Regions from separate parts of the Homo sapiens genome. Here regions 2, 3 and 4 are each linked to region 1. Evidence: promoter capture Hi-C in 16 types of primary human blood cells and fetal thymus (Javierre and others, 2016). All regions are on one chromosome and are shown on one strand. Each heading gives the region's core, a stretch centred on a gene start or on the middle of the fragment in contact. The rest is flanking DNA. Distances are from core to core; before and after follow the strand shown. Region 1 holds the start of USP18 (ubiquitin specific peptidase 18). Region 2 overlaps BID (BH3 interacting domain death agonist). Region 3 overlaps MICAL3 (microtubule associated monooxygenase, calponin and LIM domain containing 3). Region 4 overlaps MICAL3 (microtubule associated monooxygenase, calponin and LIM domain containing 3).

Region 1 (7,501 bases), core at 1,435-3,934:
AAAACCTCATGGAGCAGATCATTTGAGCAGGCTCGGTCCCAAAGGGAAACAAAATACAGCAGCCTTTCAGGGTAGATCACACTGGGGAGACAGGGAGGCGGGGCAGCAAGGAAAGGAAAGTGAAGCTTAAAAGGTCTAAGGAGGATGGGGAGGGCAAGGCGAGCAGAGAGACCGCAGCTGAAGTTAGCAGGGGCAATAAGCATCCACCAGAGAAAACAGCCTGGGCGGATTCCAAGGAAGGGGATTTTCAAACTCAACTGCTGACTCAAAAAAAGACCCCCAGGCCAGGCGCGGGGTCTTTGTTTGAGACTCTGTCTCAAACAAAACAAAACAAAAATCCCAAATACTAAACTAACTTAGCTCCCACCCTACCTGAATTTTTTTTTTTTTTTTTGGTTCACGTTCTCTCATGATCTTCCCGAAATGTTATCCTTAAGCTTCGGGGAGAGGTGAGCAACGGAAGGAACTGGCCCAGGCCCACCACTAAAGAAGCCCCAGGACCAATCGGGGTCCTCAGAGAAGCCCCAGAAGAGCCAGGAACAAGCTGCAGAAAACCTGGGGAGGGTGGGGCCTCCACCCAATACTCCACTCACAACTGGACTCTCTGCCAGGAAAGCCAACTCCAACATTTAGATGCCCTAAAAGGAACAAAATTAACCTGCCAGGAACATGATTCAAGCAGCCTCGGTGTCTTCCGACCCACCCCATCATGGCAACCACAATTGTAGACCGCAGTCTCGATGACGTGTTCACATTATTTTGCATTTCTTTTTTCTTTTTTTATTTTTATTTTTATTTTTGAGACGGAGTCTCCCTCTGTCGCCCAGGCTGGAGTGCAGTGGCCGGATCTTGGCTCACTGCAAGCTCCGCCTCCCAGGTTCACGCCATTCTCCTGCCTCAGCCTCCCGAGTAGTTGGGACTACAGGCGCCTGCCGCCACGCCCAGCTAATATTTTTTATTTTTAGTAGATGGGTTTGCACCGTGTTAGCTAGGATGGTCTTGATCTCCTGACCTCGTGATCCACCTGCCTCGGCCTCCCAAATTGCTGGGATTACAGGCGTGAGCCACCGCGCCCGGCCTATTTTGCATTTCTTGAGTAATCGTAATATGCGGGTTAGAACACACGGATTACAACACTTTGGATGAAAAACCACATAATAGGGAAATTTTGGGACTACTCTCTCTCAAAAAAAAAAACAGCTCGTGGAAAAACTAGGACTTACCTTCTTTGAAACTATGTTTATGTTAAGCATTTTCCCCTTTGTAAGCTCATCATTGTGTAAAAGTGTCAGAACTGTGCAACACATTTTTTAACAGTCCAAAAGCAAGTTCTTTGATAAATCAATATGAAGCCGTGCACCTGTGTTACTCTCCCTCCCGTTTTGTTCCTGCGAACACATCGGTAACCTGCATTCACTCTCCATCCAACTCTGTTCAATACCAGAAAGAAACTTCAGATGAAATGCTTTTCAGTATTTGCCTTGTTTTCTGGAACAACTTTAAAGTACAAATTATACCTAAATAAGTACAAATTAAAGCCTCTGCTTTAATTTTCAAACACTTTGAACCCAGATTTTCAGGGGTCTCAAAATGGAGTTTTGTGTTTAAAAGTCTAAATTTAGCTTTCTTCCAAGGAAAAGGGTGTGAAGAAGAGAGGTTAAGACTAAAATACTCTGATTTGCAGAGTTTGACAACATCCTTCCAATTTCTCAATATGAATGCCCACTGACCCAGCCATTCCACTTCTAGGAATTTTCCACCGATATATTTGTATGAATGTATACATAAAATTATATTCATTGCCGTATCTGTGCCAGTAAAAACTGGAAACAACCTAAATCTCCATGCATTGTTTAAACAATGTACTTCCCATACCATGTATCAGGTTTTTTTGTTTGTTTGTTTGAGACAGTTTCGCTCTGTCGCCCAGGCTGGAGTGCAACGGTGCGATCTCGGCTCACCGCAACCTCCGCTCCCGGGTTCAAGCGATTCTCCTGCCTCAGCCTCCCGAGTAGCTGGGATTACAGGCATGCGCCACCACGCCAGGCTAATTTTGTATTTTTAGTAGAGACGGGGTTTCTCCATGTCTGTAACTCCTGACCTCAGGTGATCCTCCCTCCTCGATCTCCCAAAGTGCTGGGATTACAGGCGTGAGCCACCGTACCCGGCCGAATCAGTTTTTTGTTTTATTTTTAATGCCATTAACACATCTATATGTCCTGCCATGAAAAGATGTCCATAATATACTCAGTGGACAAAGCAAGTTCGAAATGATTTTAAAGACTTGTACATAGAAACATTTCTGATAAGGTACAAACAAAAATGATACTGAGTGGAAGACTGCGAGACACATTTGTCTGCATTGTTTGAATTTTTTTACAAGCTTACAACACTTCTGCAATTTCTTTTTTTGTTTTAATTAAACACAAAGTCATGTCAAAAGTCCAAATAACTATATTAGCTTAGAAAAAAATTCACTGGCCCAAAATATATGCACGTAGTAAATACAGATCACTATCATAATTTGCAGAGCACAATTATTACTTAATTCCTTAATTATCTGACTGGCATAGGAGCAGAGTTGGATGTCTGTGCTAGAAAGAAAACTTCCAAAATGAGCCCCGAACTTGCCTCAAGCGCCATGCAAGCGTCCAGCCTCCGCTGCTGAGTTCCACGTCGGGACTGAGCCGGGGACCGAGCTGGGACCGAAGTTCCGCTCCGGGCCCGCCTTGGTCTGGCCCCGCGCTCGTGGCACCCCGCCCAGCTTTCGTTTTCCACTGAATGGAAAGCGAAACTTACAGCGGCCTCCGCGCCGGGAGCTGGGCGCCAGCGTGCGGGGAAACCCTGCCGGCCCGAGCTTCCCGCGGCTGCCGTTGCAGCCGCGCACCTGCTCCAGACTTCCAGCCCTCGCTTTTTTTTTTTTTTTTTTTTTTTGAGACGGAGTCTCATTCTGTCGTCCAGGCTGGAGTGCGGTTGCGCTGTCTCGGTTCACTGCAAACTCCGCCTCCTGGGTTCAAGCGATTCTCCTGCCTCAGGCTCCGGAGTAGCTGGGATTACAGGCATGCGCCACCACTCCTGGCTAATTTTTGTATTTTAGTAGCGATGGGGTTCCGCCATGCTGGCCAGGCTGGTCTCAGGTGATCCGCCCGCCTCCTAAAGTGCTGGGATTACAGGTGTGGGCCACCGCGCCCGACCTACAGGCGCCTTTTTATTTGCGATTTTAAGGTCCTTGCAATTAGCCTACGTGTTAGAGTCATTTGGCGTTTGGTAGTATCCATGGCAGCATTTTTTCTTTCTTAATGCTATTGTATTTCTTGGATCGGGTGTCTTCACATCACCGGCCTGTGGCTTGGATGCGGCACATGGTGTAATTAGGAGCTCCCCTGTGGGCATGCAGATACAGATATTTCTCCACTTAAGAAGGGGTCAGGGGGCGCGGTGGCTCACACCTGTAATCCCAGCACTTTGGGATGCTGAGGCAGGCGGATCACCTGAGGTCAGGAGTTCGAGACCAGCCTGACCAACATAGTGAAACCCCATCTCTACTAAAAGTACAAAAATTAGCTCGGCGTGGTGGCGCTTAATCCCAGCTACTTAAGAGGCTGAGGCAGGAGAATAACTTGAACCCAAGAAGCGGAGGTTGCAGTGAGCAGAGATCGACAAGAGCAAGACTCCGTCTAAAAAAAAAAAAAAAAAATGGGGTCAAGTCCCAGTGAACCCATCATGAAGTCGAAACATCGTAAGTGAAACCACGGTAAGTGATGGACCATCTGTGTATATATAAGGTTAAGAGATCTGTAACATGCACACCGGAAAGGCTTATTACCTCTTTAGAGATGTATTTCTTGTATGTAGACTCATGGGGGTAGGGGCAGAAGGGTTATCTGCTAGGGGCCTCAAACTCCAGCCGCTGGAATTTGCGCAGGAAAGCAGGGTACAATTCCCCCAAAGCGATCATTCTTTCTGAAAGCCGTCCCCGCAGCAACAGACAAATAGCCTCCAAAAACCCAAAGCTGCCAGAACCTCACTGAAGCGTTGGTAGGGTCTGCAGTAAGGTACAAAATACCATGGCATGAAGATGTATAAACGTGTCCATAATAGGGTGGATGTGTGTTAGAAGCATGAGCACAGATATACACATACAGGCTATCCACACGTCCATCGTCAGCCCAGACTCCGCTTACATTGCTGCTGGAACGGAGGCAGTGTCGCCCACAGTGCAGCATGTTCTCCCTGGAAGGCTGGTGGACTTTGCGCAGTATGGTGTTTACACAGGTACACGGTGGTGGGCGCAGGGTCCGTCCTCATTATATTTGCTGACCAATCAGTTATATAACCAGCTTCATACATCTGGTAAGTCTTGTCCACAAACAGGAACCTCAAAAACTCAAGTGAGGGCAATGAGGAGAGGAGGTTGCAAAATTTGATAAAATATGCTAAATACAGCAAGTCAGTAGAAGGCTAAGGAGCAAGCTGCAGTTGCTTGCAGCAACTATCAGCAGAAAACTATTAATAGTCAATCCAATGATTCTATCTGAATCTTGGTAGGTCGGTGGAGCAAAGTAATTGGTGTTGCTGCCCCAGTGCAGAATGGACAAGGGTGAACCTTGGGTTGGAGGCTGGACTATATAATGTAAGGATCCATTACACTTCTATGGGGCTCTTCCTTCCGTCCTTCATGGTACCCTCCTGAACAATTCCGTGCTAAGGCCATCAGGTGTGTCAAGCAAAGTGGGCGTTTGTGTAGTATGTTCCACAGTGGCCCAAGCAGGGTGCTGGACTGGAGCAGGTTGAGGAGGGTGGCAGCACAGTGGGGCTGCCCAGCACAATGTCAGACACAAATGGGTGCTGGTGCAGCCCGGCCCAGGGTCACAGCCCAAGCAATTTGAAGATGTGGCACATCCCGGTATTGGAGTGGCCCAGTGTGTGGTGTCCAGGGAGGGCAGGGTGCTGGTGGAGATGACAGATTAGTTACATACAGGGGGATGACCAGGTAACTGAATGTATTAAGGATAATTGGAGCCAGAGTTGAAACTCTCAGAGATAGGAGTTACAAATAAGGAAAGGGAGAATGAGCCCACTAGTGTTGAACTGGAATTGGACTTAGCAGTGTGGATCCATGATTTTCAGTATGTATACACAGATAGATAAAGAAGTACAAGGCGGGTGGATCACGAGGTCAGGAGATTGAGACCACCGTGGCTAACACGGTGAAACCCCGTCTTTACTAAAAATACAAAAAATTAGCTGGGTGTGGTGGCACACGCCTGTAGTCCCAGCTACTCGGAAGGCTGAGGCAGGATAATCATTTGAACCCGGGAGGCAGAGGTTGCAGTGAGCCAAGATTGCATCATTGCACTCCAGCCTGGCGACACAGCGAGATCCCCTATCCAAAAAAAAAAAAAAAAAAAAAAAAAAAAAGAAGTACATGTGGAGGTAAACATGTGTATACATGCATACATCCCCTGACTTGGTCTGTAGGGGGCCTGGGAACAGTGACACCCCAACAGTACATCTTGCACCCAGATCTTGGTTTCTAATTCCCATTCTCTAGTAAAAGGAACCAATGTTGCTTGGAGAAATGGCTGTTTCTGGGGTTAAGGCAGAGAAAGTACAAGATGAGCCTAGGACATCTTGTTCTGCCAGCAAGTAAGGGAATGCTCCAAGAATGATGGGGATGTTTCAAAACGATGCAGAAGCCAGCTCCAAGACCATGCTCCCACTGGCCAAATTTGGAACAACTTGAGCATTAAAAGAAATGATGATTTGTTTTGTTTTGTTTTTGTTTTTGAGACGGAGTCTCGCTCTGTTGCCCAGGCTGGAGTGCAGTGGCACTATCTTGGCTCACTGCAAGCTCCGCCTCCTGGGTTCACACCATTCTCCTGCCTCAGCCTCCCGAGTAGCTGGGACTACAGGCACCCGCCACCACGCCCAGCTAATTTTTTGTATTTTTAGTAGAGACGGGGTTTCACCGTGTTAGCCAGGATGGTCTCGATCTCCTGACCTTGTGATCCTCCTGCCTCGGCCTCCCAAAGTGCTGGGATTACAGGCATGAGCCACCGCGCCTGGCCTGAAATGATGATAGTAACATTTCGACCTGTTAAATAAAATGGGAAGCCACACTTCATACCAATAAAAGTAGATACTGAATAAATTAAAAGTTTGATGAGAAACAGGATATTTACACAGTTTCAAAGTACTCTCCCACAAAATACATATTATTAATTACCATTATTACATACATGTGATACAGGTTCATTCTGCCCGCATGCCATAAATCCATCACTGTGACAGGTTTTGTAAAAGAGAAAAGATTTATTCGCAAGGCAGCCCAGTGAGGAGGCAGGAGAACAGCTCTCAAATCTTCCTCCCCAAAGATAAGTCTTAGGGATATTTACCGGTGAGAGAAGCAGGGTGGTGTAAGGTATGGGCAAAGGTGATTGGCAGTGGGGGAAAATGAGGCAGTCGGTGACCACTGCAAGCATAGTCAGGGTTCGTGGCACTTCACAGGGCACATGTTCAAAAAATGACAGCCTTAGCGTGATCTGAGGGTGTCGCTTGGGGCCTCTGATGTCAAAAGGCCACTTCTTTTGTTTGCACAAGCCTACTTGAAAGCTCACGGTCTCAACTGGTTTGAACTAGGCAGGAGCTGCCCCAAGTTCCTGAAAAACAATTTGAACGATCATGACAGTAGTGACATACATGTTATCTGTAAGGAAGCCGGCAAGGTTAAGTTACAGCGCTCAGTGGCGCGGCCTTCAGCTTCACAGAAAAAAAATAACAAAAGCAAGTGACCCAAAGCAAGCAGGGCAGGCTAAATTGGGCAGACCTAATCAGATGAACCCCATGGTCTCATATGTAATATTACATTATAACTATAAAGAATGTAATTAATGTAAATATTCGGTACAAGAAAGTCATCAGTGCGGGGAACACTGGAATTGCGTGCCACCAGAGGACAGAGTGGAGCCAGCGCGGTATCACTTCTGTGCTGTTCCCATCGAAGGTCAGTAACCGGAACCCCTTCGCCAGGACGCGGGTCCTGGCCAACCCAAATCGAGGGGCATTCTGCAGATCAGCTGGTCTGCCATCTTCAAACGATTCATGAAAATCAAAGACAGCTTTGAGGAACGGCTCCAGACTGGCAGAGACCAAAGAGGTCATAGATGAACAGGAGATCCCCAACTGGATCCTTTGGCTGTAAAGGACAATATTGGCACAACGGGTGAAGCTTGAATGGGGTCTGAGGATTAGGTGGTAGTAACTTCACAGGCGGGGATTTGGGAGAAATGCAATGTCACGTGGAAAACTGACTCTCAAATAGTTCAAGAAGGAAGTTCTTTGGACTATACTTGCAACTTTTCTGTAGGCTTAATACTGTTTCACAATTTTAAAATGTAAAATAATAGTACCAGGTAGTAGTTTTTTATTAAGACAGATTGTGCTTTTTGAAAGCATTGGTGGAAAGATTTCTCAAAATCATGCGCGAAAGAGTTTATAA
Region 2 (7,501 bases), core at 3,364-5,863, 400 kb after region 1:
GACCCCTGAAGTTGTTCCTTGGAGAACAAAGTGGTGAGGGGCGGGGATTCCAGACCTTGAGGCAGAAGCTAGGGTCTGGTCCACTGTTCTGTGGACTGGGCAGTGGCCCTGGGAGGTGCCGTGGCCTCTGTGGCCTGTTTCCTGGGGTGGGGTCTGTCTTGCGCTTTGTCTCTTGTGGGTGCAGACTCCCCTTCCTCTGCTGTGGAGCCGGCAGATGGCCCCGGAGCCAGATCCTGGTGCCTCCCTGTCCACATGCAGCTCAGTCATTTGCTCTTGGTCCCTTCCTATGAAATGCACGGCCACACACAGCCAGGGTTTCTCCTGGGCTCCCCAGAGGGAGAGTAGGGTGCAGCCTGCAACAGTGCAGGGTCCCCAGGCCTGTGTGAGCCCCCAGGTGGGGAGGTGGGTGATGCGCATGTCAGTGCTACCTCCTGCCACCTCCTCTCTGCCTGGGCACAGGCTTTCTCCTCTGTTTGCTTTTTATTTCCTATGTATTCAGGAACCATGTGAAATTGCCAATGCTTGGTTTTGTCCTACAAAATGGCCATTTCATTTGGTTCAACCTGATATTGTGTCTACACACACACACGCACACACACACACACACAGGCAAATACTTTTTAAAACAGGATTATTCTATTCACAGTGTTCTGTAGAAATTTGTGTTCAGTCTTTTTTTTTTTTTTTGAGACGGAGTCTCGCTCTGTCGCCCAGGTCGGACTGCGGACTGCAGTGGCGCAATCTCGGCTCACTGCAAGCTCCGCTTCCCGGGTTCACGCCATTCTCCTGCCTCAGCCTCCCGAGTAGCTGGGACTACAGGCGCCCGCCACCGCGCCCGGCTAATTTTTTGTATTTTTAGTAGAGACGGGGTTTCACCTTGTTAGCCAGGATGGTCTCGATCTCCTGACCTCATGATCCACCCGCCTCGGCCTCCCAAAGTGCTGGGATTACAGGCGTGAGCCACCGCGCCCGGCCTCAGTCTTTTTAAGACAGCTTACTGTACTGATGCCGCACAGATCTTTTTTTTTTTTCGAGACAGGGTTTCACTCTCGCCCAGGCTGGAGTGCAGTGGTGCAATCTCCGCTCACTGCAGCCTCCACCTCCTGGGTGTAAGTGATCCTCCTGCTTCAGCCCCCCAAGTAGCTGGGCCCACAGGGCTTGCATCACCACACCTGGCTAATTTTGTATTTTTGTAGAGATGGGGTTTCACCATGTTGGCCAGACTGGTCATTCTTTTTGAGATGGAGTCTCGCTCTGTCGCCCAGGCTGGAGTGCAGTGGCGTGATCTCGGCTTACTGCAACCTCTCCCTCCCAAGTTCATGCCATTCTCCTGCCTCAGCCTCCCGAGTAGCTGGGACTACAGGCGCCCGCCACCACGCCCGGCTAATTTTTTGTATTTTTAGTAGAGACAGGGTTTCACCGCATTAGCCAGGGTGGTCTCGATCTCCTGACCTCATGATCCACCCGCCTCGGCCTCCCAAAGTGCTGGGATTACAGGCATGAGCTACTGCGTCCAGCCGGAAGATTTAATTTTTTAATTGTCAAATCCATTCTCTCTCTCTATAAACATTTTACATTTTATGATAATAAAATAATTTGTGAGCCCACGGCCCCGTTTCCCTGATGCCTGAGGTCTTCCTGGGGCGGCATGGGAGGGCTGAATTCAGGTGCGGGGTCGGCCCCAGGGCACTGAGCGCCTGGGTGAGTATCTGGAATGAGGAAAACAAAGCTTGGCTCCCGCCAAGGAGAAAGAAACTCAGGATGCGGGGCTCAGGCCAGGACCTCGGCTCAGCCGCCATTTCTGGAGCACAGGCCAGCTTCGTCGTCCTCCCGAGGGGTCCTGACCAGGGCTTCCCAGGAGCGGCCGCCCACTCTGTGTGTCCCTTTCCAGGTCGCCACTGGGACACTGTGAACCAGGAGTGAGTCGGAGCTGCCGCGCTGCCCAGGCCATGGACTGTGAGGTCAGAGGCCAGATCCCCTGCGGGTGCCTTGTGGGGGGCGGGGTCGAGGGGTAAGGGCCTGCGTGTCCCCCACCACGCATCCCTGAGGGCTGAGGCTGAGCCCGCCTGGCCCTTACCACAGCTCGGCACAGACGAACCCCGCCCAGCCCCTTCACTGAAGCAGGCGGGAGCCGGGAAGTCCTACCTTTCCCTGTCCTGCGCCTTCCTCGCACTCCGCTTGTGGTGCAGCCCCTCCACACCGCGCCTGGGGCTAACTGCAAGGGCGAGGGGGCTTTGGGTTTAAGACCATTTAACAGCCATAGGCTGTGGGTCCCAGCACTTTGGGAGGCCAAGGCAGGAGGATTCCTTGAGGCCAGGAGGTCGAGGCTACAGTGAGCTGTGATTGTGCCACTGCACTGCAGCCCTGTCCAAACAAACACGAAAGAGATTTAAGAAGAAGAAAGGGGGCATTAGATAAGCACTTCATATAATTCTCTCAACTGTAAAAGCAAGACAATACTTACCTTGTCTAACCAATGCCATTGCTATGAGGAGCAAATAAATCAATAAAGGTCAAATAAAAGTACTGTAAACTGTAAGGTGTTTCAAAAATTTTTTAACCCACTGGATTTAAATTTCCCTTCATAGCTGGGCGAGGTGGCTTAGGCACATAATCCCAGTGACTTGGGAGGCAGAAGCGAGAGGATTGCTTGAAGCCAGGAGTTTGATTGAGACAAACCTGGGCAACATAGTAAGACCCCGTCTTTATAAAGATAAAAGCGGTGGAGTTCTGGGAGGGGAGCCCGGAGCCCCCGCCTTCAGCAGGACGCTCCCTGGATGCTTCCTTGTCTCTCCTTCCCTTTAAATGGTCTGGGGAGAGAAAAATCACAGCACACGGGTGCTCTCTCCCACCCGCTGCATCACATCCTCCTCCCCTCCCTCCTGCCGAATTCTGCAGCCTCTGGGCGCCTCACGCTGTCCTGGCAGCCTCTGGGAAGGCATCTGCGAAGTCTAATGCCTTGGCACTTAGTGACTGTGTCGCAGTTCCTGAGCATGGAGAGCACCCGGCACCCAGGAGGTTCTCAAGCTGCCCCTACTGGGGGTCCTTTCCAAAGGTGGGGACGGTGTGGATTTCAGCGTGGTGGCTGGAGGGCTGAGGCAGTGGCTCGAGTTTGATGTTAGTTACATAAACAGAGGAGATTGCAGGAGCTCCCCCGGCCCTGATCCAGGCTTGTTGTCAGTGTCCAAAAGACCACTCTGGGTGCCACTGTCCCTTCCCACCTGCCGCTGCTGTTCCGGCTTCGCGCTCTGGCGGCCTCCGCAGGTAGAACACCACCGTCACCCGCGCAGCGCCCTGACTCGCCGGAGGAGGCGCCTGCCCTCCCGCCCGCCTCTCCCCGGCCCCCTCAGTGAGGGAGGGTGGACGTCGCCACTCCCCTTTCTTGCCTTCGGAGTGAGGAAGCGGAGGCAGCAGTACGGCAGCCCGCCCAGGGCCACAGAGCTGGGGTCACAGCGAAACACTCCGAAACTTTCTTTTCAATTATAGGGTTCAGCCTTTTTTCCCATCATAACTTTAATTCTGTGTAGATACTTCTATTTTTTATTTTTATTTTTTTTTTTGAGATTGAGTCTCTGTGTCGCCCAGGCTGGAGTGCAGTGGCACGATCTCCGCTCACTGCAGGCTCCGCCTCCCGGGTTCAGGCCATTCTCCTGCCTCAGCCTCCCGAGTAGCTGGGACTACAGGCGCCCGCCACCACGCCCGGCTCATTTTTTGTATCTTAGTAAAGACGGGGTTTCACCGTGTTAGCCAGGATGGTCTCGATCTCCTGACCTCGTGATCCGCCCGTCTGGGCCTCCCAAAGTGCTGGGATTACAGGCGTGAGCCACCGTGCCCGGCCTTATTATTATTATTTTTTTGAGACGCAGTTTTGCTCTGTCGCCCAGGCTGGAGTGCAGTGATGTGATCTCCGCTCACTGCCAGCTCCGCCTCCCAAGTTCATGCCATTCTCCTGCCTCAGCCTCTCGAGTAGCTGGGACTACAGGCGCCCACCACCACGCCCGGCTAATTTTTTATATTTTAGTAAAGACGGGGTTTCACCGTGTTAGCCAGGATGGTCTCGATCTCCTGACCTCGCGATCTGCCCGCCTCGGCCTCCCATAGTGCTGGGATTGCAGGCGTGAGCCACCGCACCTGGCTAATTTTTGTATTTTTAGTAGAGATGGGGTTTCACCATGTTGCCCAGGATGTTCTCGACCTCTTGACCTCATGATCCGCCCGCCTCGGCTTCCCAAAGTGCTGGGATTACAGGCGTGAGCCACCGCGCCCGGCCAGCACCATCTTTTCCTTTCCACTGGAACTGATCTTATTATTTTTGCCTCCATTAGATCATTTTTGTAACATGTCTTGCAGGATTTACTGTCTTGATCGTTTCTCTTAACATATTTTTTTCCTGTGATCTAAAAAGATAAAAAACTATCAATTCTTTTATCAAAAGTGGATCTAGAGGCTGGGCATGGTGGCTCACGCCAGTAATCCCAGCACTTTGGGAGGCCAAGGTGGGCAGATCACCTGAGGTCAAGAGCTCCAGACCAGCCTGGCCAACATGGTGAAGCCCCATCTTTACTAAAAATACAAAAATTAGCCAGGCGTGGTGGCACGTGCCTGTAACCCCAGCTACTTGGGAGGCTGAGGCAGGAGAATCCATTGAACCTGGGAGGCAGAGGTTGCAGTGAGCTGAGATGGCACCATTGTACTCCAGCCTGGGCAACAGAATGAGACTCTGTCTCCAAAAACAAAGTGGATCTAGAAGATCAAAAAAGGGCATGATTCCATATTGGCACAGCACAAGCCCTATTCTTGGAATTAAATGGCATCCATCTTCCGAGCCCACTCCTGTCCTGCAGGGCCGGCCCAGCCTGTCCCTGAGGCACTGGTCCAGACAGGAGCCTGTCCACACAGCTGTCCACTCAGTGGGCCCAGTGCTTGGCTTCACGGTCACTTGCGGCACCTAGACCTCCTCTGGCAGGTGCCATTCTTTCCTCTCCCTCCCTGCCGCCTCGAGTCTTTATTTTCTGTGGGATCTTGAGTTTGATAACCTGACCTGCTGTGGTGGCAGCACCGCTCTGTGTCCAGATTCTGGATGCCAATTTACCAAGCGCAGGTCAAAAAGAAGTCCTTGGGCAGCGGCTGCCTGCGTTAGCTTCTTGGGGCTGCTGTAGGCGGTTCCAAGCAGGAGAGTGGCTTTAAACAACAGATGCGGATCCCCTCCCGGTTCTAGAGGCCCAAAGGCTGGAATCCCATGTTGCCCGGCTGCTTCCTTCTGGGGCGCTCTCCTGGCTCCTGTGGCTGCCTCTGTCTTCACATGGCGTCCTCTCTGTGTGTCTCTGCTTAAATCTCCCTCTCCTTTCTCTTACAAAGACACCAGTCATTGGATTTAGGGCCCACCCTAATCCAATATGACCTCATCTTAACTTGATTACATCTGTAAAAACCTTATTTTCAAATAAGGTCACATTGACAGGTACTTGGGGTTAGGACTTGCGCTTTTCTTTTTGGGTGACACAGCTTAGCCCAGCACTAACTGTGTCACCAGGACTGTCGCTTGAGGCAGGAATGAAGCACATCCTGTTTGTAAGCTGTCTTGTGCCATGCGGCTGCTCCGTACAAGAATTGTTAGGAATTGATGCAGTGGAATTTTGCATACAGTTTTTCCTCTCTTCAGAAACAACTTTGGAGAAGTAAAGGCTGAATAGCAATACACAAGCACCTTATTTTATTTTATTTTAGATTCAGGGGCACGTGTACATGTTTGTCACATGGGAATATTGTGCACTGGTGGGGACTGGGCTTCCGGTATCGCATGGAGAGGGACTCTTTCTGCGCTCCCCCGCCCCCGCCTCCCTACTGTAAAGTGCCCGGTGCCTGCTCTCTCCATCTTCGTGTCCATGGGCACCCATTGTTTAGCTCCCACTTATAAGTGAGAACAGTCAGTATTTGATTTTCTGTTTCTGAGTTAGTTCACTTAGGGTAATGGCCTCTAGCTCCATCCGTGTTGCTGCAGAGGACATGATTTTATTCTTTTTTATGGCTGCAGCAATACACAAGCTCCTTATTTTTATTTATTTATTTATTTATTTTTGTTGTTTGTTTGTTTGTTTTGAGACGGAGTCTGGCTCTCGTCCCCCAGGCTGGAGTGCAATGGCGCGATCTCGGCTCATTGCAACCTCCACCTCCCGGGTTCAAGCGATTCTCCTGCCTCAGCCTCCCAAGTAGCTGGGACTACAGACGCCCGCCACCAGGCCCGGCTAATTTTTGTATTTTTAGTAGAGACAAGGTTTCATCATGTTGGCCAGGCTGGTCTCAAACTCCTGACTTCGTGATCCGCCCGCCTCGGCCTCCCAAAGTGCTGGGATTACAGGCGTGAGCCACCGCGCCCGGCCAAGCTCCTTATTTTAAGCATTTTTTTTTTCTTTTTTGAGACAGGGTTTCACTTTGTCACCCAGGTTGGAGTGCAGTGGTGTGATCATGGCTCATTGCAGCCTCAAACTTCTGGGCTCAAGTGACCTTCCCGCCTCAGTCTCATGAGTAGCTGGGACTGCAGGTGCATGCCACCTTGGCTAATTTTTATTTTTTGTAGAGATGGGGATCTTGTTGCCAGGCTGGTCTCAAATTCCTGGGCTCAAACGATCCTCCTGCCTCTGCCTCCCAGAGTGCCGGGATTACAGGCATCACCTAGCAAAGCATTAAAACAATTTGCTGCTGGGTGCAGTAGGTCACACCTGTAATCCCAGCACTTTGAGAGGCCAAGGAGTTGGGGGGAGTTGGGGGGCGGGCGGATCACGAGGTCAGGAGTTCGAGACCAGCCTGACCAACATGGTGAAACCTCGTCTCTACTAAAAATACAAAAATTAGCCGGGCGTGGTGATGCACACCTGTAATCCCAGCTACTCAGGAAGCTGAGGCGGGAGAATCATTTGAACCCAGGAAGCGGAGGTTGTAGTGAGCCGAGATCACACCACTGCACTCCAGCCTGGGTGACAGAGCGAGACTCCATCTCAAAACAAAAACAAAAACAAAAAAACAATTTGCCCTGTAAGAACTGTCCTCTAAAAGTTTTTGGTTTTTCTAATGAAAAATATTATGGACTTAGAGAATAGAAATAAATTTCTGCCTACACTTCCATCTTCCCTCCCACCCTTCTCTGGCAGCCCAGGAGGTCTTTTTGTGTGAATCTGCGCAGATCTCAGCGTCCCTGCCCTTCTTTGTGTTTTGTTCTCTCTTCCACCTTAGGTCTTTCTCTGGTCTGGGCACACCCAGCTGCAGGGCTCACCTTTGCCTGTAAGAATACAGCCCCCAAACACAGTCAGTACCCCAAGAACAGTCCCTGCCATCTCTGGCGGCACAGATGCTGGCCAAGCTGCAGCTGCCAGTGCTGCCCAGGGAGCTGGAGAGCTGCCGGCCAAGAGCCCAGCCCCTCTGGGTAGAGCAGGAGCCAGTGCCACCACTCCCTGTGGGATTCGGATTAAGGACACACCCACCCAAAGTAAACCAAGCTTGGCCA
Region 3 (7,501 bases), core at 3,336-5,835, 330 kb after region 1:
AATCTGCTCTTTTTCCATCTTGGTGCATGGGCCCCCTGAATGCAGCTCAGGATGAAAGGAGCCTCAGAAAGGAATGTGTGATTCTCTTCACTGAATTGAATGGTACATATACGGCTGGAAATGACCAGGTCACACTGAATGAGCAGAAGGACTGTGCGTGTGTGTCTGTGTGTCCATGCGTCTGTGTGTGTGTGTGTGTGTATACATGTGCATACATGTTCTTAATTTTTACTTCTTTCTGATTCATACTGACCCTGGCCAATGCTGTAACTTCTCTTTCTGTTTCCTTTCCCATGCTATTTCATCCCCTCCTTCCCCACCTCATTTCTCCACCCCTTGACCCTGGGACACTAGCCGGGAACCAGAGGCTCCAGCAGGTCATGCACGCGGCGGATCCTCTGGAGATCCAGGCTGACGTGCACTGGACTCATATCCGTGAGAGAGAGGAGGAAGAGAGGATGGCGCCGGCCTCTGAGTCCTCTGCTTCCGGAGGTAAACACTCCCAGCCCCAGGCCGCAGTGTGCCCCGAGCACCACCCGCCTGCTGCCTCTGTCGCCACAGGGGGCCTTTCTGTCAGGGCAGAGCCACCCATGAGGTCACACACGGGAGCCAGGCGCATCCCGCTTTGCTGCTGTCAGTTGTGACACCTGTACTTTTCATCTGAGGATATGTGAAGTTCTCTGTGGATTAAGAGGTTGTGGACTCTTTCTCCATTGATGCAAAATGGTAAAATGAACCTGATCTTGGGTAAACCAAGAATTTTCTGTCTTTCTCTCATGTTTCTGGTCACCGCTGCTCTTTCCTCACTTCGTAAAACGTTCTGGTACTTTTCTTAGAGTGTGTCTGGACGTGAATGTGTGTTGGCAGGAAGGGGGCGGGAGGGGCATGTTTGGAAGTGAAATGAAGTCTTGGGAAGAGATTTCTGTCCAGGAGGCCTCCACAGTAGCATCGTCTCCAGCCCCAGGCTTTAGGTGTGACGGTCTGTGTCACACAGTAGGATGAAGATGAACCTTATTCTGGCTTTTTTAAATAAAGGAATAGCAATAAGAGAAGGACCGTGGAGACTGCTGAGGGACGTGGTGGCCGCTGTGCCATCTTTCCTGGCATGCTGTCTTCCAAATACCCACCCTCGGAGTCACCTCTGCTGTCACTTCTGTGCGTGCACATTTTCATTCAGCGCCGGTCACGGGCCACACCCCCTGCCAGGCTCTGAGCATACAAAAGGGGCATTTCCTGCCATCATAAAACAGCATTAATAAGACGTTTGTTCCTCCCTGGCCCCAAATCTTCACTTGTAGGCAAGACCAACCTCCGTTTCCGGCTTGTGGTGGCACCATGAGCACCCGCATCACTGGGCTGGCCTGTGAGCTGGGGAGCGCTCTGCAGCCCTGGGCCGGCGGTGGCCCTACCTTGGGTTTTCCCTCTTCTCTTCTCATCCTGATTCTCCATCACACAGGCTAACATCAGGGCTCGCACCCCTTGTTGGTGCCAGACAGGCGTCTGTCCTGAATGCCTTCTCACTTTCTTTCTCTTTGGGATTTTAAGGATGACCTTGGCTCTCCTCGTTGGGAACGCATATTGCTGTGTAACTTTGTATTTGTCGTCTGTTTTAAATTCAGTGCCCGACCTTCCCTCCATACGCCACGCGGCGGTGCAGGCCTGGCTGGAGACGGTCTCCGGAGGTAGTCTGGTGATGTTCACTCTCTCCCCACTCACCGTAACCTCTCTCTAGGCGGCTCTGCTGGTACCTTAACACTAGACTCCTGGGCCTGTTGCAAGTGCATGCCAGGGCGGCAGAGGCGGGTGGGGGTACCTGCATGCCTTGCCAGACAGCCCGCCCTTGCATGGATCAGACGCACACCCCCCCTTCAGGGCAGCTCAGAGGGAAACGTGAGGGCAGGCAGGACAGACACAGGCAGGTTTTTATTGATAAGAGTCGGATAAAAAGGCCAAAGCCAAAGGAACGTTTTTGGCACTGAGAGTTTTAAAATGTGTTGAGAATGAGGTGGTTACCGATTGAGTGTGAAAGGGGAGGAATCAGAAGATATTCCACAAGCCTACCAAGCTATCAGAGAAGGAGGCTGTCAAAACCAGGGGGTTTATGGGAGGATGATGGTGGAGAGGGAAGAGCAGAGGATGGGCGGGTGCTATTCAGCAGAAAGTGGGGACAGGCTGGGTGTGACCAGGGGTGACACCAGTCAAATCCAGCCCGAGCTGCAGGCGTCTCTTCAAGTACAAGAGATCGTTGAGCAGCCTGAGTTGTCCTTCCTACATGTTTCTGGAAGTGTGTGTTTCTCACCGAGGGGCTACTGGCATTTGGGGCAGGACAGCTCTTTCCCTTGCAGAAGGTTTAACATTCTTGGCCTCGGCCCTTGGAGTGTCCGTGCAGCCTCCACCACCTATGAAGACACCAAAAATCCCTCCACGAGTTGTCAGACACTGCTGGAGGAAGGGCAGTGTTATCGCCAACAGCACCACTGTCCTAGCGGTCACTTCTGGGATGCGGACATGGGAGCTCGTGGGGCTTCAGCAGCCTGTCCCTGTGTCCTCCCGGCAGTGGGAGAAACAGGCACACACAGCCGCAGGGAAGGGCCACTGCTCTTTGCGCAGAGACGGCTGGCTCCTCTTCTAGATAGCTTGGGTCCCTAGGGCGGTGGGGCAAGAGCCTCCCAGCTGGCGGCTGAAGGAAACCAAGAGCTGAGCGGGTCAGTGGCTCCTGGCTTTCATAGCACGTGGCTCATCAACCTGCGTGGCAGCTTCTAGCACCCTGCACTCCGTCTTAACCTGAATTTCACCCCCAGATCCACCCCTCAAGCTGTGTCCCTTTCAACACTGCTGCTGCTGCGTTGATATTTCTCACCTGTTTATTTTTTTTTATCTGTGACGATTTTTCCTTTCAAGGTACTGCCAAGGAGTGTAGACTTCTCACCCGCCTGACTCTACCACAGGCATTTCTTAATAGAAAGTCTACAGGAGAGCCGCGTGAAGGACCCAGGCACCAGGGCGGGATCAGGCTAACCCAGGGTGCCCTGGGCTGTGCCTGGCTGGGAGGCCTGTTTGGGTCTCCTTGGTGCTGGCCTCCAGTTCCCTCGCCAGCAAGAGTGTAGAGTTGCCATATTGATCCCTGGGCACCCAGATTCACCCCAACAAATCTGTCAGGCACAGTGGCCCTCTCCATGGGATGGGCCAGATTCTGTTCCAAACGGGGCGTTTGTTCCTCCTTTTCAGAATCGGTGTAGTGCAGCCATGAATTCTTTTATCTTTGCTCCAGAAGTCCCACTCCCTGGTGTTTGATGAACTGTCTTCCTTGAGTGGCCAAAAGCAGTGTTCTCACACCGAGGTTTTAACCAATAGAAATACTTGAGGCATTTCCCCCCTGCTTCCCCCAGCAGGTGCCGATGCTGTAGGATAGCATTTGGCACGGCCAGCAACGTGGGCCACTCTGGTATCTCAGGGAGGCACATGGCCCTAACTGTCAGCTAGTCTGGGAACCCGCCTATCTCTCCCTGTGACGTGGGCCGTCTGTTCCCTTCCAAACCTGTTTCATACAGTTCTTCAAACACTAGATTTGAACCGTCATCTTACAAACTGTGCATAAAAGATAAAAATAAGCTTAAGGAATTATTAAAGAAACAGAAAATCATATAACTGCCACCCTGTTCAAGGGATAAAACGTTGCCAGCATCTTCTAAGTGCCTGGCCTGTGGAGAGAAGATGCTACTTCCGAGGCTGCGCCCTCCCATTTCCACATGGCTTTTTAAGAAATCCACCTAACCGGGCGCCATCAGTTCCCTGCTCCCCAGCCTGGGGCTTTGATCCGTGCGGACTCTTGTATATGGACATCAGAGCATAACTCCTTTCTCCTGAAATTAAAACCCTTAGGGGTAATTTGAGGGTGGCTGGGCTTGAACCCTAGGAGAGCCCGCAGGCCCCCGGCCAGTGGTCCTGTGGGTCTCAGGTGGTGCGGGTCTCACAGTGTCCTCAGAGCAGAGCGTGCCGCCCTCTTCCTGCTGGTGCAAGTTCGGAGTGTGGGAGGTGGGGACGGTGTGTGCGTGCTTAGGGGCCGGCTCCTGGGGAGGGGAAGTTGTCGAGGGTTTTGCCTCATTTTGCAGCCCTGAAGGGCCACTTGGAGTCCAGAGGATGAACTTTACGTACCTTCAGCCCCCAATGCTCTCCCAAAGTATTAGTATTTCTCTAAATTATTGCAAGGGAAGCTCATCTGGTGCCCCTGCACACAGCGCTGTGGACAACCCCCTCAGCTGGCTGGACCTCAGACTTCTCGCTAAAGAAACGGTCCCTCTAATTATGTTGCAGGCTGAGTGTTTCTTACCTGAAATGTTTGAGACCAGAAGTGTTTTGGATTTCGAATTTTTTTCGGATGTTGTAATCTCTGCATATACATAAGGAGAGATCTTGGGGATGGGACACAAGTCTAAACACGAAATGTATTTATGTGTCATATATACCTTGTACACGTAGCCTAAAGATAATTTTATATAATATTTTTAATAATTTTATGCATGAAACAATTTTAGGTGTGACTGTCACCACGAGGTCTGCTGTGGAATTTTCCACTTGGCCTCTTGTCAGTGCTCAGAAAATTTCAGATTTTGGAGCATTTTGGATCTTGGATTTTCAGATTCAGGATGCTCAGCCTGCATTATGAGGGCTGAATGACCCATGGTGTGTGAGGCGGTCAGCACACAGCCAGGCTTTGGCAGATGCTGCTGGGCCAAGGCCCAGAGAAACAGCATTTCCCTTTCCACCCTCCTCCAACTGAGGTTCCTACAGCAACCTTTGGGGGAAGAGGAACAATGCCCCCACCTTCAGCCGCTCTTCTCTTCCCACTTGGCCCCTAGCATTGAGAAATGCCCACCTCCTGTGTTTGGGGGCCCCGGGCCCCCCCCAGCACCCATGCTACGTGTGGAGAGCCCCCTGGGCCTGGCAGCATCTCCCCTCTCCTGGGGCCTGCATGGCAGCGCCCTGAGAAAGGCAGTACCTCTCGCCCCCGTGAAGATGCAGCCTGTCTGTCTGTCCTCCTTTTCTTCCTTCCTTTGAACCTTTCTGCTTTGCAGCCCCATTGGATGAGAATGACCTAGAGGAAGATGTGGACTCAGAACCAGCCGAGATAGAAGGGGAGGCAGCAGAGGATGGGGACCCAGGGGACACTGGTGCTGAGCTGGATGATGGTAGGGGTCCGCCCTCCCCGCCCCTGTGGTGGGAGCTCAGGGAAGATGAAGGCAATATGCTTTCCAGCAAAATCAAGCTCAGTGAGGCCGCCGTTGGGCCTCCTGGTTCCTTCTTGGCTCCACCATGGCTGGAATGCATCTCATTCCACCCAACCACCACCTACCCACGAGCACCAGGCGACTTGGCCTGCAGTCATCCAGCTGCAGCTGGGTGCCTGAGCCAACCTGTGGCTTTATACAAGGCCTTTAATTCTGCTGACTGGCTCCCAAAGCTACATACCTGGAGATGGGTTCTGCATCGCAGTCTGGTTGTGGGGGGCTGAGGGGGTCAGGGACGAGGCTGGGAAGAATGAGAAGAACCCAAGCTTGCGAGGGGGCGCAGGCCTCAGCTGTGGAGTTGGGGTGGCAGTCAGGGCTACTGAGAGGAGGAGGTGCATAGAAGTGGGCCCGTGAGGCCAGGCCTGCCCTCCACAGGCACACCCTGTCTTTGTCTGTCGCAGCCCATCATGTGTGACTGTTGCTGTATTTTAAAAGAAACAGAGCCCCACAGGCTTTGATGCGGCCCCGCGTTGCAAAGGCAGGAGGGTGCTCTTGGCCGGGCCCCTCAGGAGCGGGGGTGGTCTGGTAGGCAGGTCTGTCCCTGCGTAAGAAGGGCCTCCAGGCCTGCACCTGAGCAGCTGTGTTGCAAATGAGCAAGTGGCGCGGCTGCTCTCAGGTGGAAAAGGAGTTGGCCTCACTTAGGGTGTGCACCCACTTCTGCCCCTTCCCTCTGCCAGATCAGCACTGGTCTGACAGCCCGTCGGATGCTGACAGAGAGCTGCGTTTGCCGTGCCCAGCTGAGGGGGAAGCAGAGCTGGAGCTGAGGGTGTCGGAAGATGAGGAGAAGCTGCCCGCCTCACCGAAGCACCAAGAGAGAGGTGAGCCTGTCTTTGATGGGAGAAACAACTTTCAGAATTCCTACGAGGGCCATATGCACACAAGAGTGGCTCAGGGGCCAGGCGCTTCAGAGCAGAGCCATGGTGCACACCAGCCTCCGAGGTGTGGGCAGCTCCTTGCCTTTTCCTCCTCTGTCCACCCTCCCTGTGCCACAGGCTGCTGCAGTTGCTTTGGCCAAAGGCCCTTTCCTTGCATAGTTTGGGTCTGGGAGAAGGTAGAAGGTTTGTCCTGAAGCTCTGTGTGCAGAGTCTGCACATGGAGGAAGCCCACGGCCTGACCTGGTGTTGACAGGAGCACCTGCAGAGAGTGCCGGGCAGCCCCGGGAAGACGGTTCCAGGACCCTGGCCTCTGAGAGAACCTGTGCTTTCCAGGAGAACTGGGAGCCGACTCAGCGACTCGCCCTCTACCCTCCCCTCCACCCTCTGGGGCTGGCTGATAGGGGTGCCTTCCTGGCACATGGGGGGGCTTCCTCTTGTAAGTCCCTGTGTTCATTCTTTTCAGGTCCCTCCCAAGCCACCAGCCCCATCCGGTCTCCCCAGGAATCAGCTCTTCTGTTCATTCCAGTCCACAGCCCCTCAACAGAGGTAAGGGTTTGGGGCTCGCTGTGGGGTACAGAGAACTAATGGGACCCCAAGGACACATATTAACTTCTCTGTTTCAGGGCCCATGGTGTGGGTCCCACCAAGACTGGGGCTAACATAGCCTGCTGGCCTCCTCATTCTGAGGAAGACTGAAAACTATCATCCTCCTTGTACTAAGTGGAGCTGTTGATGACAGGAGTGGCCTTGGAGTTCCAGCTCAGTACTCTTGGGGATGAGGCCGTCTGGGTGGCACCTACTACCTCTGCCCCACTCTGATCCCAAACCTGAGTCCTCTACCCCGTGTCACTGTGTTAGGTCCACATACCACACACCATATGTTTAATTTAAACAAATTTATTAAAAATAAATAATTTATTATATTTAATAAATGTATAATAAACATAGGTGTATTAAAATTGTTTATAAATATAAATTTATTAAAATTTATGTTTATAAATATAAATTTATTAAAATTTATGTTTATAAACATAAATTTATTAAAATTTATGTTTATAAATATAAATTTATTAAAATTTATGTTTATAAATATAAATTTATTAAAATTTATTAGAACAAATTTATTTTTTATAAATTTATAATATATTAAAAATAATATAATTTTTATGATAAATGGTATAAAACATTTGATATTTTATTAAAAATAAATTTGTTTAAATTAAAGCAATAATATCGATGGGATGGTTGGTTTGATATGACAAATGCATTTTTAACATTATGTTAAAATAAATGTATAACCATTGAAATTTACAACATCTGGCCAGGCGCGGTGGCTCA
Region 4 (7,501 bases), core at 1,775-4,274, 310 kb after region 1:
TTTATCTCCCTTTCTCATCTGCTTTCCATTGAATGGCAGTTGTCAAAAATAAATGATGGAAAGAATCAAATGGCGCCACAGACAGTGTATCCTCAGCCCTCCCCTGTTCATTATGGGGTGGCCGCCATGGATTTTGATGAGGAGAAGGAAGGGATGGGAAGACTGGTATTTGGGAATGATGAGCTAGTGCAGTTAGGGCCTTTGCTGTCCCAGGCCTGGGAGGGCAGGTTTGGAGAAACTTGAGGCCGGATCTATCAGGATTGCCCTCTGCCTCTTTTCTGCCATTACCTCTAGTCCACATTTCCTCATCTTCAAGATGCCCTAGCCCAGCATCATAGCATATTCTTTTTGTGCCCTGAGCTCGGTGTTGAAGAATGGAGCATGATGTTTAAAAAGGTCCCCCAGCAAGGATGCAAAGGCTAAAACAAGTGGGCACGTGTACAGGGCACAAGTGAACTCAAGTATTCGTGTTTTGCCCCTTCATCACACCATTACCTGAATTTGTATGTGAATACGCCACTGGATCTTGCTTTGTTAGTAAAGATTCTCTAGTGAATTCGAAAGATGCTATTTGGTGGAGGATGCCAGTAATTCCAACAGATGTGCCAAGACCTTATCCTGTGACTACCAGGGTTCATTAAAAGCTCTGTCTGAGGCTGCCACAAAGACGTTCAAACACTGCACACAACAGAAGTGCAGGCCTTCAGAAAACACTTTGTGCACAACCTGTCGTGCTACAAAAATTGCTGAATCACCTGCCGCTTTCCTTTAGCCAGGTTTTGCCTGATGGACCACCTGTCTCTCAACACTGGCTTGTATGATGTGGCATGCCAAAACCCAGCGTTGTCTCCTAGAGCTTAGAATGTTGCAGGAATCGGTGACCTGCCCAGCCAGGATGCCAGCCCAGTCATGACCTGCTCCCTCCAGCACCTCTGCCCCTTCTCTGCCTCCTTGAAGGTCTGGTAACACAGCCGGGCATGGTGGCTCCCGCTTGTAATCCCAGCACTTTGGGAGGCCGAGGCGGGCGGATCACGAGGTCAGGAGATTGAGACCATCCTGGCTAACATGGTGAAACCCGTCTCTACTAAAAATACAAAAAAACTAGCCGGGTGCTGTGGCAGGCGCCCGTAGTCCCAGCTACTCGGGAGGCTGAGGCAGGAGAATGGCGTGAACCTGGGAGGCGGAGGTTGCAGTGAGCAGAGATCGTGCCACTGCACTCCAGCCTGGGCGACAGAGCGAGACTCCGTCTCAAAAAAAAAAAATGTCTGGTAACACCAGGCTGCTACCACATGGCACTGTGCCTCAGCCCTGTTTCTCAGTAACGACTGTTCGCTCTCCAGAGCCTGTGGATGCAGCTTTCCAGGAGTATGCACACAGTGGTGGGGAAATATTACTGGACACCAGACTTGCTGCTTCACTCATGTTTCCTGGGCACTCCCCAGGTGGCAGGCGTTAAGTGGAAGAGGAAGGTGACCGTGTGTGTGGGGTGCAGGGTCAACACGCACCCCCACATGAGTATGTGTGCATCGTGTCACTCGGTGTCCATGACGGCTCTGGGAGGTGGGTGGTGCCATCATTTATCTATCAGGAAACGAGCTCTGAGGAGTTCTGTAAATTTTCTAAGACCCTTCAGCCAACTACTGGTGGAGCCAGGCATCTGGAAGATGAGGAAATCTGACCTGGGGTTGCCCGCCTCCACCTGGACCCGGTGCTACTCACATTACAGGGGACACACCAGAGGACTCATGACAGCCTCCTCTGACCAGGATCAGGAGGACAAGGGACGTCAACAGAGAATAGTGGTGATGATAAGGGAGGCAGCAGAACTGTTCCATGTTAAAGGAGACCAAAGCACAGTTGTAAAACACATTTTCAAAAATCCGAGTCCATAGCAGTACTTGAAAGTATAAAGTTAAAAATGGGAAAAGTGCTTCTTTACCAAAGAATGGTAGTGGAGGAGGAGTGATGGGATTTTTTTTTTTTTTTTTTTTTTTGAGATGAAGTCTCGCTTTGTCACCCAGGCTGGAGTGCAGTGGCGCAATCTCGGTTCACTGCAAGCTCCGCCTCCCAGGTTCACACCATTCTCCTGCTTCAGCCTCCCGAGTAGCTGGGACTACAGGCGCCCGCCACCGTGCCTGGTTAATTTTTTGTATTTTTAGTAGAGATGGGGTCTCACTGTGTTAGCCAGGATGGCCTTGATCTGCTGACCTCGTGATCCACCTGCATCGGCCTCCCCAAGTGCTGGGATTACAGGCGTGAGCCACCGCACCCAGCCAGAGTGATGGGATTTTAAAATCACCTGGTGTGACGCCCTGTGCACACAAAGGACTCCGGCCAAGATCGCCGACGATGCTGAAACCACAGGGTGAAAGGACGCAGGCAGGGCACCCCGTGGCTTCAGAAGCCCACGGAGGACTGATGGGGAAGTGTGCCTGTGCATCGCAGAGAGGCCTGGGTGCCACCTCTGTGAGCGGTCGGGCCTGGTGTCCTTCCTCTGAGCAGCGGTGCTGCGGTAGGGGCAGCATCGCCCACGTGGCCTTATGAAACCGAAAGTGCCTTATCTAACTGTGAGGAGACAGATCCGCAGCATGAGACGTTCTTCAGGCAGCTGGCCAGGCCCCCTCAGTGGTGGGGCACGTGCCTGGTGGGGACTTGGATCCCGGGGCAGGCATTGGGGGAGGCACCTGGTGGGGGCCTGGATCCCTGGGGCAGACTGCACCGGGGATGCCCTTCTCAGGCAAGGCTGCTTCAGGGGCACCTGGCTCCTGGCTGCCTGCGGTCTGGCCCACACCCCTCACCACCAGTCACTCTTGTGGGGAGACTGCGTCTCCCCTCTGGGGGCCGGGTTCAGGGTGATGAAGGAGAGAGAACGCTCTGACCTGGAGGGCAGACAGGGCCACCTTCCTTTCTCCTGCAGAGTGAAATTCCCTCTCACATGCCAGGGTCCTTCTCTGGCCTCTGGCAACTCTGCAAATGCTCTGACCTTTGTCCTGCCCCACATTCTGGCAGGAGGGCCTGCAGCCTGGGTGTCAGCCCCCACCCCCACGCCCCGTCTGTGGTTGGACCTCAGTGCAGTGCTTCTGTGCTTGTCCCGCAGGTTCAGGCGTGAACGGCCTGGAGGAGCCCAGCATCGCCAAGCGACTGAGGGGCACCCCAGAGCGGATCGAGCTGGAGAACTACCGCCTGTCCCTGAGGCAGGCTGAGGCACTGCAGGAGGTACCGGAGGAGACTCAGGCCGAGCACAACCTGAGCAGCGTGCTGGACACGGGCGCCGAGGAGGACGTCGCCAGCAGGTCAGCACGCAGGGCTGCAGGGCGCCCACCCGCCACACGGCCCTAAGAGCCTCCTCACCTCTGTGTGTCTCGGTTTCTTCTCAGTGAAGGGAGGCCTCCTGTCTTTCCTGCTGCCCGCAGTCCATTCTCCCCAGTCCCTTTTAGGTTCTTAGCCTCATCTTCTAGTCAGTGAGGACTCCTCCATCAGACTCAATTCAGAGATTCAGGAAGTATTTATTCCTTGAGGACCTGACATGTCCCCAGCTCCAAGTCTGTCATTGGGAAGGAAAGTGGCAGGCTCTGCCCCCGGGTTATTCACAGATTCAGCAGAGGGAAGGACGGGCACACGGGGAGGGACTCTGGGTGATTCAGCCACCAGTGCACCGGGCCGTCTTGAGGGAGGCCTAGTCCGTCCCCCAGGCATCTTTTTTTCTCCTGTAGGTAAAGAAAGGGACTGAAAATGTGTGCCCCAGGGGCCGCATGCAGCACCAGTGGATGCATGCTTAGGCAGTTCCAGAGCTGTAATCACATCCAGCTGGGTGACACCTTTGGGGATGTGCATGCTATAACCCTAGGACTCCCTATATCCACTGCCCTGCACCCCAGGGCTTCCAGTATCAGCGAAGGCTTCAAAGTGTTCAGCCGATTACAGATGATCAAGAGAGCCAAGAATCAAAAGGGGGTCCGGTGTCCTGTGGGGCTTCAGGACAGAAACACAGGCTGCAAACCCGAGGGGCAGAGGCCTCAAGTGGCCTTGGAGAGCATTTGAATCACACACCTTGATTTAGCCATGATGAAGGGAACATGTGGGGATAAGGAGAGCAGAGCAGTTTTTTTAAGGTCCAAGAACGCTTTCCAGAAGGTGTTTGCTGGGCCGAGCTGCTTTCAGCTGCACCCGCCACCTCAGCCCTCATGTCAGACACCCTCTGCCTAGATTCATTCTTGGGCTGCCTCACAGACCGCTCCTCCGTGCATGCCGGGGGCAGCCTCTGCCTTGGTGTCTGCAGTTCCAAAGCTGTCACTGATGGTGCATCCTCATCCAGAACTCTGCTTCCCTATCCAGAGCACCCATGGAGGCCCCACTCTCCCCACTGTGCCCAGATGAGGGGGAGCCCACTCTCTCTCTCCACTGACCCTGCAGTGAGGGTGAGAGATGCTGTGTGTCAAAACACATTTATAAACCCTTGAGCAGAGCTACTGGCTTGACCTTGGGCTGAGTGTGGGTCAGCACCATTTTCTCCACTGTAATTTATAAATTGTGAGAGGCAGTGGGGCAGCAAGTTCATGTAATGTAGCAAGGACATTCCAGGAAGGCTAACCCCTGGCATTTATGGCAGGTATGACAGGAGGGCAGCACAGAAAACATGAAATCAGTCAGCATCTATGCAATGCAATACATGCCTCATCTTACTCAGATTGAAGTTAAAAAAAGATTTTAAAACTAGCATTCATGCTGGGCGCAGTGGCTCATGCCTGTAATCCCAGCACTTTGGGAGGCCAAGGTGGGCACATCACTTAAGGTCAGGAGTTCAAGACCAGCCTGGCCAACATAATGAAACCCTGTCTCTACTAAAAATACAAAAATTAGCTGGGCATGGTGGTGCACACCTGTAATCCCAGCTACTTGGGAGGGTAAGGCATGAGAATTGCTTGAACCTGGGAGGCGGAGGTTGCAGCGAGCCGAGATCATGCCACTGCACCACTGCACTCCAGCCTGTGTGACAGAATGAGACTCCATCTCAAAAAAAATTAAAATTAAAATCAAAAAATAAAATAAAGGCCAGGCACGGTGGCTCACACAGGAGAATCACTTGAACCTGGGAGGCGGAGGTTGCAGTGATCTGAGATCACACCAGTACACTCCAGCCTGGGAGATGGTGAGACTCCGTCTCAAAAAAAAAAAAAAAAAAAAAAAGATAATTAAAAGTAGCATTCAGTGCTATACAGAATGAAAAACAGTCTCTTAAAAGTGAAGAGCCGGGTGCGGTGGCTCACGCCTGTAATCCCAACGCTTTGGGAGGCTGAGGTGGGCGGATCACTTGAGGCCAAAAGTTCGAGACCAGCCTGGCCAACATGGTGAAACCCCATCTTTACTAAAAATACAAAAAATTAGCCGGGCATGGTGGCGGTCGCCTGTAATCCCAGTTACTCGGGAGGCTGAGGCAGGAGAATCACTGGAACCCAGAAGGCAGAGGTTGCAGTGAGCCAAGATCGTGCCATCAAACTCCAGCCTAGGCAACAAGAGCGAAACTGCATCTTAAAAAAAAAAAAAAAAGGGAAGAGCCCAGCTAGGTGTGGTGGCTCATGCCTGTAATCCCAGCACTTTGGGAGGCTGGGGTAGGCAGATCACTTGAAGTCAGGAGTTCAAGACCAGCCTGGCCAACATGGTGAAACCCTGTCTCTACTAAAAATACAAAAACTTGCCAGGTGTGGTGGCACGCACCTGTAATCCCAGCTACTCAGGAGGCTGAGGCAGGAGAATCGCTTGAACCCAGGAGGCAGAGGTTGCCGTCAGCCAGATTGTGCCACTGCACTCCAGCCTGGGCAACAGAGGGAGACTTCGTCTCAAAAAAAAAAAAAAAAATGAAGAGCCCGGCCTGGTGCGGTAGCTCATGCCTGTAATCCCAGTACTCCGGGAGGCCAAAGCAGGCAGATCACCTGAGCCCAGGAGTTTGAGAGCAGCAGTAACATGATGAAACCCCGTCTCTACAAAAAATATGAAAATTATCCGGACCTGCCTGTAATCCCAACTACTCAGGAGGCTGAGGCAGGAGAACCACTTGAACCAGGGAGGCAGAAGTTACAGTGAGCCAGGATCATGCCATTGCAATCCAGCCTGTGAGACAGAGCAAGACCCTGTCTCAAAAAAAAAAAAAAAAAAAAAAAAGCATCTAGGGGAAGGAGCTATAAATGTTGTCTTACTTCCCTGGGTGGCCGTAGGACACAGGACGGGAAGTGCGTGGTGTTTTTCTCTGTCTTCCCTACAGCACCAAGCACAGAATTGGGTGCCTTTCCAGCCGTCGGTCCTTCCTTGCTGAGATGTTAGACTGGAAGATGAGAAATGGCATCATTTTAAGGCATTAACCGTTCCAGCCAAGGAACTCTCATTTCACAAGTTCAGTGAACTCTTAACTTTGGCCTCTGCTGCAGGGGACAGCAGCGTGATGTTTCAGAACCTGACTTTGGAGTCAAACAAAGCCTGGATTTGAAGCCCAGTTCTGCCACCTGCTAGCTGTTGGCAATTTACTTAACCTCTCCCTGCTTCAGTTTCCTCATCTGCAAAGGTGCTGCACTTCATAGGTTTGTTTTGAGGATTAAGTCGTATAAAGCACGGACGAAGCCTTGATGCCCGGAGTTACTGCTCCTGTTACTCTCCTGGTACAGCACAGGTCTCCCTCACCACAGGGCCAGGGGCAGGGCCAGGCAGCCTTGTATTGGTTTCCTTAAACGGGGTTGATGCCGGGACTTGGGTTTGGCTCAAGCTCACCCTGTCCGAGAATGTTGGTAACCAAGCTTTCCCATGCCAGAGTCACCCAGGGCTTGTGATGAAAGCACAACACGTTGGGCTGAGTTTCTGATTCAGCGCCTCTGGGGTAAAGCCCCAGAATTTTTAGTTCTCAAAAGTTCCCAGGTGATGCTGTGGTCCAAAGACCACAATTTGAGAAACACCACTTTAATGTTTCTAAATTTCTCTGATAATAAACATCACCTGGGATGCTTGGCTAAAAATATAATTGCAGCCAGGCATGGTGGCTCACACCCGTAATCCCAGCACTGTGGGAGGCCAAGGCAGGAGGATTGCTTGTGTCTAGGAGTTCAAGATCAGACTCTGCAACAGAGCAAGATCCAGTCTCTACAAATTAGCCAGCGTGGTGGTACGCTCCTGTGGTCCCAGCTCCTCAGGAGGCTGAAGCAAGAGGATCGCTTGTGCCCAGGAGTTCACTGCCTGGGTGACAGAGTGAGACCCTGGCTCAAAAACAAAACAAAACAAATGTAACTTCTAGGCGCACCCTGGAGTATCTAATTCAGTGGGTTTGGGGTGGAGGCCAGGAATGTCAGTGTCCAACAGACCCCCCAGGTGAGTCTCATAATCAATTCATGGTTTAGTCACACAAGCGCCTATAAATCCCAAGCCTTGTCACAGACCCTTGGCCCAGGCCTAATCAGCTTCATGCCTCTACCTTGCAGGCAAGGTGGGGCCTGTCTCCTGGAGGAGACCCTGGAAATAG

What was found. The method cuts DNA at HindIII sites, captures the fragments that hold promoters and counts their contacts. A CHiCAGO score of 5 or more calls a contact.
Region 2: a fragment that was not itself captured here is called in contact with the fragment with the promoter of USP18 in region 1 in 2 of 17 cell types (endothelial precursors and erythroblasts); the score reaches 6.5 in endothelial precursors.
Region 3: a fragment that was not itself captured here is called in contact with the fragment with the promoter of USP18 in region 1 in 3 of 17 cell types (M0 macrophages, erythroblasts and endothelial precursors); the score reaches 5.5 in M0 macrophages.
Region 4: a fragment that was not itself captured here is called in contact with the fragment with the promoter of USP18 in region 1 in 1 of 17 cell types (naive CD8 T cells); the score reaches 5.7 in naive CD8 T cells.

What each region holds. Positions count from the first base shown.
Region 1 is chr22:18,145,353-18,152,853 of GRCh38, reverse strand. It overlaps USP18 (ubiquitin specific peptidase 18), which reads right to left and starts at 2,684. Exons shown (of 11, transcript NM_017414.4): 1 at 2,632-2,684. LOC124905076 (a long non-coding RNA gene) reads left to right here and starts at 3,640. Exons shown (of 2, transcript XR_007067999.1): 1 at 3,640-3,754; 2 at 6,914-7,501. RefSeq lists enhancers at 15-264, 2,624-2,943. The HindIII fragment of the contact is 4,848 bases long and covers 2,386-7,233 here.
Region 2 is chr22:17,744,565-17,752,065 of GRCh38, reverse strand. It overlaps BID (BH3 interacting domain death agonist), which reads left to right. Exons shown (of 6, transcript NM_001196.4): 2 at 1,892-1,961. The coding sequence starts at 1,950. Among named protein-coding and RNA genes, the nearest start is that of MIR3198-1, 16 kb to the left of the region's middle. RefSeq lists enhancers at 1,347-1,891, 7,151-7,501. The HindIII fragment of the contact is 5,764 bases long and covers 1,732-7,495 here.
Region 3 is chr22:17,820,635-17,828,135 of GRCh38, reverse strand. MICAL3 (microtubule associated monooxygenase, calponin and LIM domain containing 3) reads left to right here. Exons shown (of 32, transcript NM_015241.3): 22 at 355-492; 23 at 5,076-5,189; 24 at 5,966-6,106; 25 at 6,627-6,709. Among named protein-coding and RNA genes, the nearest start is that of LINC00528, 47 kb to the right of the region's middle. The HindIII fragment of the contact is 1,942 bases long and covers 3,615-5,556 here.
Region 4 is chr22:17,837,614-17,845,114 of GRCh38, reverse strand. MICAL3 (microtubule associated monooxygenase, calponin and LIM domain containing 3) reads left to right here. Exons shown (of 32, transcript NM_015241.3): 20 at 3,098-3,293. Among named protein-coding and RNA genes, the nearest start is that of LINC00528, 64 kb to the right of the region's middle. The HindIII fragment of the contact is 7,527 bases long and covers 1-6,787 here.